Regions from separate parts of the Homo sapiens genome. Here regions 1 and 2 are each linked to region 3. Evidence: promoter capture Hi-C in 16 types of primary human blood cells and fetal thymus (Javierre and others, 2016). All regions are on one chromosome and are shown on one strand. Each heading gives the region's core, a stretch centred on a gene start or on the middle of the fragment in contact. The rest is flanking DNA. Distances are from core to core; before and after follow the strand shown. Region 1 overlaps CYLD (CYLD lysine 63 deubiquitinase). Region 2 has its middle 68 kb from the start of NKD1. Region 3 holds the start of NKD1-AS1 (NKD1 antisense RNA 1).

Region 1 (3,892 bases), core at 1,193-3,692, 180 kb before region 3:
GAATTGCACCAAACCCTAGAGAAAGGAGTATTATTTTAAATTACAGGCCTTATAGCCTACCTACTTTAAAAAGACCTCTTACTTTATGACAAGGATTTGTTATCCCAGAGAAAAATCTTCCCATATAATTTTTAAATTTTCATTATAAAGTAGCAAATGGTAAGAAATAATGTAATTTTTTTCTTTAACTTTGCCTTAGAATTTTGTTTTCATTTTTTTGGCTCCTAGAATCTCAATTTCCTCTAAATAAATAAAAGGGGAAGAAAATATCCAGGTAAATAACATCAAATATCCTCTTAAGTCTTACTTGTATTTAAAGACTACTAACACCTCTAGGAAACAAACAGCAGGTTGAGGTACACAGACTAAAATGCATTTCTTACACAAATTAGTATGTAAACACAGAGAAACAGTATGATAAACATCCAAGTACCCACATTTACGTAGAATAATACAGTAACGTTACATGACCACAAAATCACAAAAAGTGAAGGAAGCTTTGAGATCTTCCAGTTAGCAGATTTCACACCTGGCTGGTCACGAGATTCCCCTGGGGATTCCCTCACAGATTTCCTAGGCCTCTTCCTGAACAGTCGGATTCAGCAGGCATGGCCTAGGACCCAGGAATTTGTATTTTTTTCCCATACAATTCAGTAGTCTAACCCTCTCATTATGCAGAGGAGGAAACTAAAGCTCAAGAGGTCAAGCTGTTGTCTAAGTGTACAGAGCAAGTGACAGAAACAGGGCTAGAATGCAGGTCTCTCGTCCCTACTCTGCCACTTTTTCTGTCACAGCACACCACCTCCCAAAGCTTCCCCTAGACCTGTCACCCTTACCCTTCAGCTAAGTAGCCTTTAATAGATATTCTGTCGTTAAAACTAGGTAGGGCAGGGACACATTTCATATTCCCTCTGATACAATCCTAGGCACCTAGTAAGTGTCCGATAAATACTTCTTGGTTGGCAGTTACTCAGCAAAAGTCTAATACTTTATCCTCCACTCACATCTCAGTCTACAATCATCCAAGCAGATGCAAAATTATCTGGCCAGATAATTTTCAAGATCCAGCTATAGAGGGTAGTGAATCCTGAATCTATGAAGATGCCATGTTCAAACAAGCAGGAATTTGGGTGACAACACAGTTCTATAAGATTAATGGAATCTTAATCTTCCATACTATCTCTCCCCCTTGTTCTCAAAATCTGTGAAAAAAAATAATAAAGGAATCCTAGGGATAGGAAGAATCTGGCCATTTATCTACAGCATTTGGCAAACAGAAATTTTTAAAAATCCTAAATTATTCTAAGGAGAAAATCCTTAGCAACAGTAACAACATATTTAGTTGATTTTTGTTGCTGTTTATCCTAGTTTTCAACGTGTTTTCCTAGTCTTATAAAACATTCTTCTGTGGATGGAGTCAAACTCCTTTATAAAGCTGACAGTGAGGGATGGGACACATTTAGCCTCTCTATGTATGATAACACTGCTCTCCTTCCCCACTCTCTCCCTCTCCGCCACATACATATATACACACACACAGACACACACATATTTATTTGGAGGTGAGGAACATGACATATTTTCTACTTGTAATCATGAATCATGAATCACGAACCGTGTTATAAATAAGATAATTCAATTACATTGTCATCTTGATTGTAGATAAGGAATAAAAGATAACCAAAACCTTTAAATAGCCAACAGGAAAATATTAAAGAAAACTTAAGGCTGAAAATTAAATAACCAGCAGGCACATAAGCCCCTGTGCCATGCAGCCCAGCCCCAACTATGTGCCTCTTGACAAACCAGGCTGTGCTGAAGCACAGAACAGTAGGGGGCTACCCAGAGGGAGCCAGGACAGACAGGTGCAGGGGAAACCTTCCTGCTGCCTCATGACATGCAGAAGCAGGGAAGGACGCAGCCTCCCCAGGAACCACCAGAGCTGGCCCTGGCATCCCTTAATGAGCACTCCCTCCCCAAGTAACATTAAAAAGACGTCAAGCTCCACCTGAAGAAGACGTTGCCAGAAATCATTTATGGATGAGGCCCTCCCATTTAACAGTCTCCACACCTGACTTTTGAAACCAGGTGTCCATCCAAACAGGTCTTCTTCAAGTTCTCTACCATGACAGCCTGGGTAGCAGAGCTTCCTCAATTTGTATTTTGTTTTAATTTCTACAGGAAAGGAACTGTCTTCTCTCTCCTTTTTTTTTTTTTTTTCCAACTGTTAAATCCAGTCTTACCTAGATCGTCAGCCCTTAGTATCTGCAGGGGTTTGGTTCCAGGATCCCTGCAGATACCAACATCTGAAGATGCTCAATTCCCTGATACAAAATGGTACAGAATTTGCATATAACTGACACACATCCTCCTGTATATTTTAATTAAATAATCTCTAGATTACTTATAATACCTAATAAATGTAAATGCTACATAAAGAGTTCTTGTATTGTTCAGAGAATAATGACAAGAAAAAAGTCTGTACATGTTCAATACGGATGTAACCATCCTTTTTTTAAAAAAAATCGTATTTTCCATTTGCAGTTGGTTGAATCCATGGATGAGAAACCTGCAGATACCGAGGGCTGGCTTCATTTAGATTCCTAATCATTCCTCCAGGTAGTCAATTTTTTAAAATCACATTGACAAGCTCATTCACCCATTTCTTCATTCAACACATATTTATTACAGGGTGATTGGACTTCTAGGCTGTCAGAGCTAGAAAAGGCCTTATGCATCTTTTACCCCACACCCTTCATTTTACCCAAGGGAGATGGAGGCAGGGCTAGCCCTAAACCCAGAGTCTCTCAGCCTCACCCCTGATCTAATCATCATCTCACCACCCCAACCAAGCACTTAGCAGTATAAAACCTTGTGCAAAATATATGTACTTTTTCACTTCAAAAATGAAAATATTACAAGATGAGTTTTTGTACCTTACTGTAATTTATAAAGCTAGTAAATATTAGCAAAATGGAATGATAAAACCAAAGAGTAAAAGTGCCTTTAAAAAAGTAATTGCAGGGTTTGTAAAGATTCTTTCCACTTTTTGTCACATTAAATATTTTATAAAGTCATATGACATATACATATGATGACTTTTCTGCCTTTCTGCACAGTTAGAAAGTCATTCAGGAAAGACAATGATACCACAAAACAACACTCAGAGAATGCACATTCCACAGCACTGACATGTATCATCTATGGTCCTGGTCTACAACATCCGCTGTGGTCTAAACACACACTATGGCTGTTATTAAACAAAACATCCCATTTCTACTTACTTTAATCAGAAGGAGGATGAAGCTGCTGCTAACATTTCGATAACATATCTGATTCTATCAAGTGAAACTACACTGAATTTAATGGGAGTACTGGCTGACAGATCAAACTTAAGTTCTAGACAGTCTTGTCTAAAATAATAGAGGTTTAAATATCCATCTCTCCCAGGAAATTGTAATAATTCTATATGCCAAATTCATTTTCTTATGGACTGTATGTTTGTAAAGGACTATTATCACTCCAATTCTTTCATCAATTTACTTTGCCCCATTCCATAAAATATTAATAGTTAAAAGCCTTAAAAAACCTGTTAGCTGACAGTAACTACTATGAATGAAGAGCTTCAACTGCTAAATACCCTAATCCTCCAGGAAAATCACTTCAAAAATGGACATTTGGGGACAGAATCACTCATTTATCTCAAAACCAGAACAAATAGAAAACAACACCATTAAGGGAATTTAAGTATTTTTCTGACCACTATTGCAGAAACACAGAAAAACTGAGCAGATTGTAGACATGCAAGATCAGCAGTATATAGAAAGGATTAACAAATCAAACTCAGTACATCTCTAATAACTGGATTGAGAGTAGACTCTTAATAAAACCA
Region 2 (4,344 bases), core at 302-2,801, 130 kb after region 3:
CTCCATGACAGGGAGAAGATCAGTCTCCTCTGAAGACGTGGCCATGGGATTGGGGTCTTATGAGCAAGGAAAGGGGGTCAGGCTGTAGGGAGATGATCACAGTGCCTGCCATTGCCACTGGGGACTTCAAGTCTGTGGAATCAGCAGCCATATCCCAAGGTGCCCTGGCTGTCCACCCATCAGCAATTTAGCCACAGCCCAGCGTGAGTCTGGCAGAACCTCTGCCTCTACTCTTCAGAGCTACCTTGGCTCCATGAGCTCCAGACCCACGGCCCTTAACACCTGTCATGGCCAATCCTCCACTCTCTTGGTGCAAGGGCCAGTCCCCACCGCTGGTCCTGCCTCCTTCTGCCTGGTACAATGTTATATCAGATGCTCTGTGTACCTTCCGTGCCCCCAGTTTTGCTTGGAGGTCACCCCTATCCACTTGAAAGCTTTCAGTCCTCTCAGGAAACACCTAAGTTGTTTTGCAAAATGTCCCATGTTGCTCATATCAACCTTCAAGCTCCACATAGTCTCTCTCTCAAAAAAAAAAAAAAAAAAAAAACATCTAAAGTCCTCAGCCAGGCCCAGTGGCTCATGCCTGTAATGCTAGCACTTTGTGAGGCCAAGGCAGGAGGATCACTTGAGCTCAGAAGCTTGAGACCAGCCTGGGCAACATGGCAAAACCCCATCTCTACAAAAAAAATACAAAAATTAATGAGGCGTGGTGGAATGTGCCTGTAGTTCCAGCTACTTGGGGGACTGACGTGGGAGGATCGCTTGAGCCCAGGAAGTGGAGACAGCAATAAGCTGTCATTGTGCCACTGCACTCCAGCCTGGGCAACAAAGGGAGACCCTGTCTCAAAAAAGAAAAAAAAAAAACTAAAGTTCTCACCAGGCTCCCTATTCTCTCTCTCTCTCTGTCACGCGCGCACACACACACACACACACACACACACACACACACGCACACACTACGGGTGAGGTGACTCAGGTTCTGGAATCTTTGCTTTGCCACCTATTTGCTGTGCAACCTTGGACATCTAACTTACCCACTCTGAGCCCATGTTTCTTTATTTCTAAGAAGAGGGTAATGATACCTATGTTCTAGAATTGCTGAGGATTAAATGAGACCATGCATGTAAAGTCACTCACTGTCAAGACTCAGAAGTTGTCAGTTGTCACAATATTGTTGCATCTCAAAATCTTTACAGGGCTGCAAATCTTGTACAGAGTACCTGGACCTCTGTTGTATCACCTGATATTCACAGCACCCCGGGAAGTCAGCTGAGCAAGGGTTATGCCCATGTTTCAGATGAGGCCATTGAGGTCCAAAGAGGCCAAGTGATTCAGCCAAGCTCACACAGGTGACTCAAAGCCAATTCTAGTACTCAGATCTCAGACTCCAAGCTCAGGGCCCCTCCGGGGTATACTTGCCTCCCTGACACTCTGTGTGACCTTGATAGCTCAGCTCTCAAATGCGTGGAAAGTTTTGTAGGAATCAGGTCTGGGACCATTGGACATCACATGGCCAGGTAGCAAGGGTGACAGCAGATACCCAGGAGAGGTTATGAGTGAAGCCTCTCACAGTTCAAAGCCCATGATGGAGAGCAGCTTCTTAAAAGACCCAAGTAAGGAGAGACCCTCCAGGGGTGAAAATCCAGCATATAAAAATAAAAGAGATAGGGCAGGCATGGTGGCTCACACCTGTAATCCCAGCACTTGGGGAGGCCAACATGGGCGAATCACCCAAGGTCAGGAGTTTGAGACAAGCCTGGCCAACATGGTGAAACCCCATCTCTACTAAAAAATACAAAAATTAGCTGGGCGTGGTGGCAGGTGCCTGTAATCCCAGCTACTTGGGAGGCTAAGGCAGGAGAATCGCTTGAACCCAGGAGGTAGAGGCTGCAGTGAGCCAAGATCACGCCACGCCACTGCACTCCAGCCTGGTGACAGAGAGAGATTCCATCTCAAAAAAAAAAAAAAAAAAGAAAAGAAAAGAAAAGAAAAGAAATAAATAAGAAATAAATAAAAAAGACACGTTTGGCTTCACAAACGTGTTCATCTTCTGAAAGACAAACATACTATAAGCAAAGGTGATAGACAAACAATACATTTGGGGAAAAATATTTGTGATGCAGTGGACGAAAGGTTACCATCTATAATATACAAAGAGCTCTTACAAATTGAAAAGAAAAGGGCAAGCAACCCAAAAGAAATTGTGGCAAAGGACATGAATAGGCAATTCACCAAAGAATGAAGCCAAATGACCACGGACAAATGAAAAGATGCTCACACTCATTAGTGGTCAGAGAAATGCAAATGAAACTGACAATGAGATATCACAGAGGAAACTTGAAAAGAACAATAACACAAGGGCTGGCAGAGATTTAGGAAAAAGCTACCCTCATGCGTTGTTGCTGAAAATGCAAATTGTTACAGACTTTTTGAGAAGGAATCTGGCAACTTCAATTAAAGCTTGAGGAGTTACATGAAAAATTTCACTTTTAAAATACAAATTTTGCATTTAAAATATTCCCTTTAACCCAACAGTTCTAACCCTGGAAATATGATAGAAATGAAACCACCATGTCCTGAGGACAAGTAAAGAAAGGTGTTTATTGAATCAATTTTCATAATGACAAGAAAAGCAACCTTGAAACAAAGTATGGCAGAGATGGGCCACACAGGGAACACCTTATTTCCCAGCCTCCCTGGCAGTTTGGCTGAAACCATGTGACTGGGTTCTGGCTAGGGACTGGGGCGAAGAAGTGACGTGTGGCCATGAAGCCCACGGCCTCATGCTCCTTCTCTCTCTTCCCCTTCTGTGGCAACTGCCGAGACCCCAAGATGGAGATGGAAGGAGCTCGATCCCTGAGATGAAAGCTCTGAGGAGACCACCCAAGGGCTGCCCAAATATACTGCATTACAATAGGAGCAAGAAATCAACACCCTTGTTTTGTTAAGATGCTACAATTTCAGAGTTTCCTGGTGGCCACAGCATAGCCTTGGTTCATGTTAATTAATGTGCAGGCTAAGTGTCCTTCAGTAAGAAATGACTAAATGAATGATGGCACAGCACACTCAAGAATATTACACAGACAGCACGAAGAATGAATTAGACCTGGACCACGGGGTTGCCAAATGTAGGAGAAGAAAAGCACAATGCAGAAGATCGTATATAATGTTTCATCCGGGCATTCTAAACAATGATCAGAAAGACTTTCTGGGCATGGGGGCTCCCATCTGAGATTCCAGCACTTTGGGAGGCTGAGGTGAGAGGATGGCTTGAGGCTAGGAGGTCGAGACCAGCCTGGCCAACATAATGAGACCCCGACTCTACAAAAATTTAAAAATTAGCCTGGCATAGTGGCGTGCACCGGTAGTCCCAGTTACTCAGAAGGCTGAGGCAGGAGGATCACTAGAGCCCAGGAGTTCAAGGGTGCAGTGAGCTACGATTGCTCCACTGCACTCCAGCCTGGGCAACAGAGCAAGACCCGCTCTCTAAAAGAAGAAAAAATATGAAAGTATATATGTATGTGTATATACGATTACATAAGAAGGGATAAGAACATGGGAAGATGCTGATGGCAGTGGCTGCTGCCATCACGACGGCTGCCTGGCTGGGGCTGCACACTCCATGGTGCCAGTGGGAGCCCCGCCCCTTCTGAGTTGGGAAGGGAGCTCCCTGGGTGCGCTGCAGCCACCCAAACTGCAGCTGCAGACCCAGGCCTCCTGGGAGCAGGCAGGAGCCCCACCCTCCTGGGCGGGGCTACAGCTGCCCAAACTGCAGCTGTGGTTCCGAGCCTCCCTGTGCTCTTGGAGGAGGGCCAGGAGCAGCAGGATCCGCCTCCCCAGGTGCGGCTTCAGCTGCCCTCCCAGGTGCAGGACCTGGGTGTCTCTGCAGCCTGCACCCTTGGGGGACCTGGAAGGCCCCCCTACACACACCGTCCCTGCTGGCTCGGGGGTGTCTCTTCCTGCAGCCTGACCTCTTTCCTCTCCTGGCGCCAGCTCCGATCTCGTTGGGGGTTTGGGGCCAAGCCCCTGGGCCTTGAATGGAAGCGGAGGCAGGGTCCTGGGCGGAAGCGGGGGGGTCTTCAGTAAGGCCCCACCTTCAGGCCAGGTAGGGCATGAAGGCTAGGAGCCGGGCTGCCAATCCCGCAGACTGGAGTGGGGACTCACGGTGCCTCTTCCACCCGGCCCCCGCTCCTTCCCCACCCTGTCTCTGCCCATGAACCAATCAGTATGCATTTCTTCCCCTCTGAGGTCTATAAAAGACCTGTGCTCAGCCAGAGCAAGGCAGAGGATGGCCAGAGGACTAAGAGGGCAGAGAGAGGACAGGACTGGACGACCAGCTGCAGA
Region 3 (4,259 bases), core at 466-2,965:
ATCTATACCCTGAGATATATATGTCTATAGTGCAGTGTCTATCACACTATAGGTGCTGCATCATCAGCAGCATCATCAAAATGAAACAACGGTAAGTAGCAGAACCAGGATTTGAACCCAGAAGTTGTGGAACAAAGAGAACTAAATCCCAGTTTCCCAACTCCTCAACCACTGGCCTGTCCACTCTCTCAGACCACAATAGCTGACACCTGTTCCTGCCTGTCCAGCAATCCTTCTCCTCCTTCTGATGATAGCATCTGGCTTTCCTCCCCAGAGCTACTCATCCCCCACTCTCAGTCTATCTAGTTTATGGAGACTGATCCCACTCCAGGGTCACACTGCACTCAGTACCCCTACCTGACCCAGCTTGTTTCATCCTGAAGGCCACGTGGCTGGTCCTAGGTCAGTATGAAAGAAGAGTTTATGAAGAAGCTAATGAAGCTAGGCTTCTGGGCCCTCTCACCTACACGGGCCCTTTCCAAGTCAGGATGGGTCTTTGCAAGGTGTTTATGTGGTCATATGTGTTTGTATTTGTAACATTTTCCAAATTAGGCATTTTATCCTCAATCTATTAAGATTGTCATCTAACCATTCTGACATCCTTTGCCTGTGTGAGGTGATACTAGGGGAAATACAGGCATTTCTGGACATGAGCTAAGGAGAGACTGAGTTGGTGAGATATTTATTTTGGTTTGGCCCCAGAAAGCTTCAGGTCCCATAAAACCTAGATCTACCCTGGTCAAGTGACCAGTAAAGTGGTCAATAAAGTGAGTCCAACATGTGCAAGAACCCCTGTGACCTGGGAACTTTCTTCCACCTGACAGGGCTGTGCTCATAGGATGGGAGTGCCCAGAGCTGGGAACTGCCACCCTTGCCCCCTGTGGGGGAGAAGCCACCAGGGGACAGAGGGAGAGATGATGGAGAGGGAGAGAGAGGGGCAGCGAGCGAGACATGTGTGTGAATGTGTGAGTATACGTGTGTGTGTGAGTGTGTGTGTGTGCGTGCATGTGTCCATGACATGGTTTTAGCTCCAGAATCCAAACAGGCCTTTTTAGGCAAGATCTACCCTAGGATTTTTCAATTTCATGAGCCAAAAGTTTAAGTGAGTTTCCAAAAGAACCGAAAGAATCCTGACTTAACAAATCCGTCTCTCTGAGATCCTGCTTTTTAGGAAAAACCACCAGCACCAGCACCACAGCAGTAATTCACTCACCCAGGGCAGTCCCTCTAGGGTGATTTCCAGCTTTTTCACCTGTGGGTGTCTGCCCCTTCCTGAGACCAGAAATGCCACCAGGGACTTCTTCTCCACCATCCTGCCTCCCAGCTGCATTTTACTGCCACTAGATTTTGCTTATGGACCAATTGTAACTGAGGGGAAACAAAAAAGGGGGAAAAGCGGGTAGGGGAGGAAATCCTTCTCAACAAATAACATTCTGGCCTTTTTTTCCTCATCAGAGCATAAGGCTGGTGGCCACTCGGCTTTGACATCTGAACAGGATTGAGACGAAACATCTGTTCAGGGAGGGAGGGGGAAGCCCCGGGAGAGAAGGGGAAAGGGGAGAAAAAGCCTTCTGTGGGCTAAAAATATCACGTCCCTTCCACTCTCCCCCGCCCGCCCCCACCCAAGTTAAAACATGTGATGAAATTCGGCTTTTACAATCTAACCCCGAGCTACTTGAAACTATTAAAGCCTCTCCGGTATCTGACACAAGTCAGAATTTCCACTGTTCCAGCTGAGCTTTTATGAGGAGCAGACTTGAGAGAAACTGCCAAGGTAACAAAGTCCGCTTGTTCTCTGTCACCGCTGCAACTCAGCTTCTGGGGGGACTGTAGGGGAGTGGAGAGTCAGGGCCGCTGACACCCCCCGACAGGACAGGCTCTGAACTGAGGGAGAGGAGCCGGCGGGGCATGGGCACCTGCCCCTCCATCTGGGGGTCCCTGCTGCCTTCCCATGAACTCCTCTTCCTCCCAGCCTTCCTGGGAAGCCACCGCCAGCCCTGTGTATTGAGGAGCCTTGCCCGAGAGTCCCGGGCAATGTCCGTGGCTACTTCCTGAGAAGTCTTGACTCGCTCTCTCTCTCTGTTTCTTGCCCAACTGCTCCTTGAACCCCAAGCTCCAATCACCAGGTATCCCACGGCCTCCTCGGTACCTCTCCTTGGATGTTAAATGGGCATCTTGAACCCAACTGGTCCAAAAACGGGAGGCTTGATGGTCACCCGCCAAAACCTCCACCTCAGAAGTGACACCGCCAAATCCTTAGTTCCTGAAACCAAAAGTCTAAGATGCATCCCTGATCTCTCTCGTTCCCTCAACCCCCTTCTCACCAGCTCCAACCTCCAGCCCCATGGACCTCTCCCCAGCCCCAAGCTCCCAGGCTAGGCCAGCACCATCTCCTCTCGCCTGCGACCCTGCAGTCACCTCCTGGTTTCATTGCCCTCTTCCTCCCTGCCCATGGGCAGTCCCTCCCAGAAGCCAGAATTAACTTCTTAAAACAGAGGTCAGAATCCAGCAGTCACCCACCCAACCATCTGGGCAGAACCACGCAACCTAAGGGCGTGGTCCCACACTTGCCGACCACCCCACTCTCATTCCTGATGCCACATCGGCCTCCTTTTTGTTCTTCCCCAAACACCAAGTTCCCTCCACTCTGGGGTTCTGCTCACTCATAGCTGCTCTCCCCCTACATTCTTCCATGGCTGGCTCCTTCCTGGCATCTGCATCTCAGCTGAAACATCACCTTCTCAGAAAAGCCTCCTCACTCTACCTCTCCCTGGGTTTTACGTCTTAGCAGAGAACCACTACTAGAAACTTCCATGCTCCTTCGCAGATTTATGTATTCATCCCTGCCTCCCTCCTGTGAATGTCGTGACTGCTGGGCCTGCCTACCTTGCTCGTGCCTGTGAACCCAGGGCCCAGCAGAGCCCCTAGCTGCAGCAAATGCCCAGCACATACTGAATGGTGAGGAGTGAGGGGCCAGATTCTGTTCTCAGTCTGCTGTGTGACCCTGGACAGGTCACTTCCCTCTCTGGGCTTCAGTTTTCCAACTACAGATGAAAGGAAGTACAGGCCTCCCAAGTTCCTTTGCCCAACATCTGACCCCTGGGAGCCTGGACAGACTGGCCCAGGCCCCAACACAGGTACACAGGTCCTGCCTGAGAGGCCGGAGGGAGGGGTCACCTGCTTTCAGTGAGGCAGAGGGAGAGGTCACCTGCTTTCAGTGACTACAGGGTATTGACTTTCCTTCTTCAGTGAGTGTTTATTTATTGAGCACATACAGCATGCCAGACCCTACTCCAGGCACCAGGAGTACGGGGAGGCCTTTGGAGATTCTAACAGGATTAAAGAAGCTTTGCAAAGAGGTCCTCTTTGATCTGGGCTAGGTAAATGATTATAAACACGGGCTGACACCTCTTCAAGAAAACTGAACCCAGGAAACAAGAATCATGGCAGCTCAAGTGTGCTGGGCACTTACTCTGTACCAGGGCCACCCTTGCGACCTACATCCATCACCTCATTGTCTTCACAATAACCCTGGCAAAGAAGTGCTACAAGGAACCCAGTGAGGAAGTTGAGCCACAGGGAAGTGACTCACCCAAGGTCACACAGTGAGTGTGGGTAAGCCAGGCTGGAATGGGGTCTGAGCTGCGAATTCACAGGAAGTCAGAATCAAGGGAGGAGAGATGAGGAAGGCAAAGTTAGGGACCATTGCAGAGCTGAACAGGCCCCGAGCTCCCCGAGTGCTGCTCAGCCCCCACCAGGCCTCAGTCTTAACACTGCTCCCTGCTGGGCAGAACCACCAACTCCAGGCACATCCACCCTTGGGCTGAGGAAGCAGAGACCACCCCACGGGCTGCCACATGCGCACGCCAGGCCAGTGGGGAGAGGGCAGCAGGGCCAAAGCAAGGCCTGCCCTGGAAGCTGGGAGGCCTGGGCCTGGTCCCGAGGAGGAGGGGCTGCCTGACTTCAGTGGCTCTGAGCATCTCCTTTAGGGAAGCTGCAGAGCAGCCTTCCTAAAGATGCCGGAGAGTGGAGAAATAGAAACCAGGCACTTGAGGATGCGGAGAGACAACGAGCAAAGGCCCAGAGATGAGACACAGAGATAGCCAAGAAGCTGGGCGGGGGCAGCGTTCACCAGGTGAGAGGCAGGGGGGACCTGGAGAGAGGGAGATGGGAGAGGGGGATGAAGCAGTGGCTGCAGCACCCTCAGACACAGTGACTCCTGGAGGCCATGCAGGGGAACGTGGCCTGGCCACCCATTC

The links. Contacts are between HindIII fragments. The CHiCAGO score rates a contact against its expected background, and 5 or more counts as called.
Region 1: a contact is called between a fragment that was not itself captured here and the fragment with the promoter of NKD1-AS1 in region 3, in 3 of 17 cell types (neutrophils, non-activated CD4 T cells and activated CD4 T cells). The highest score is 6.2, in neutrophils.
Region 2: a contact is called between a fragment that was not itself captured here and the fragment with the promoter of NKD1-AS1 in region 3, in 3 of 17 cell types (naive CD4 T cells, total CD8 T cells and non-activated CD4 T cells). The highest score is 5.8, in naive CD4 T cells.

The regions. Positions count from the first base shown.
Region 1 is chr16:50,796,943-50,800,834 of GRCh38, reverse strand. It overlaps CYLD (CYLD lysine 63 deubiquitinase), which reads right to left. Exons shown (of 19, transcript NM_001378743.1): 19 at 1-3,892. The region is part of intron 2 of CYLD-AS2 (CYLD antisense RNA 2); the gene reads left to right. Among named protein-coding and RNA genes, the nearest start is that of CYLD-AS2, 4.5 kb to the left of the region's middle. The HindIII fragment of the contact is 3,258 bases long and covers 814-3,892 here.
Region 2 is chr16:50,478,363-50,482,706 of GRCh38, reverse strand. No RefSeq gene overlaps it. Among named protein-coding and RNA genes, the nearest start is that of NKD1, 68 kb to the left of the region's middle. RefSeq lists an enhancer at 3,211-3,813. The HindIII fragment of the contact is 1,822 bases long and covers 641-2,462 here.
Region 3 is chr16:50,611,106-50,615,364 of GRCh38, reverse strand. NKD1-AS1 (NKD1 antisense RNA 1) reads left to right here and starts at 1,715. Exons shown (of 3, transcript XR_007065197.1): 1 at 1,715-1,774. The region is part of intron 4 of NKD1 (NKD inhibitor of Wnt signaling pathway 1); the gene reads right to left. The HindIII fragment of the contact is 2,641 bases long and covers 709-3,349 here.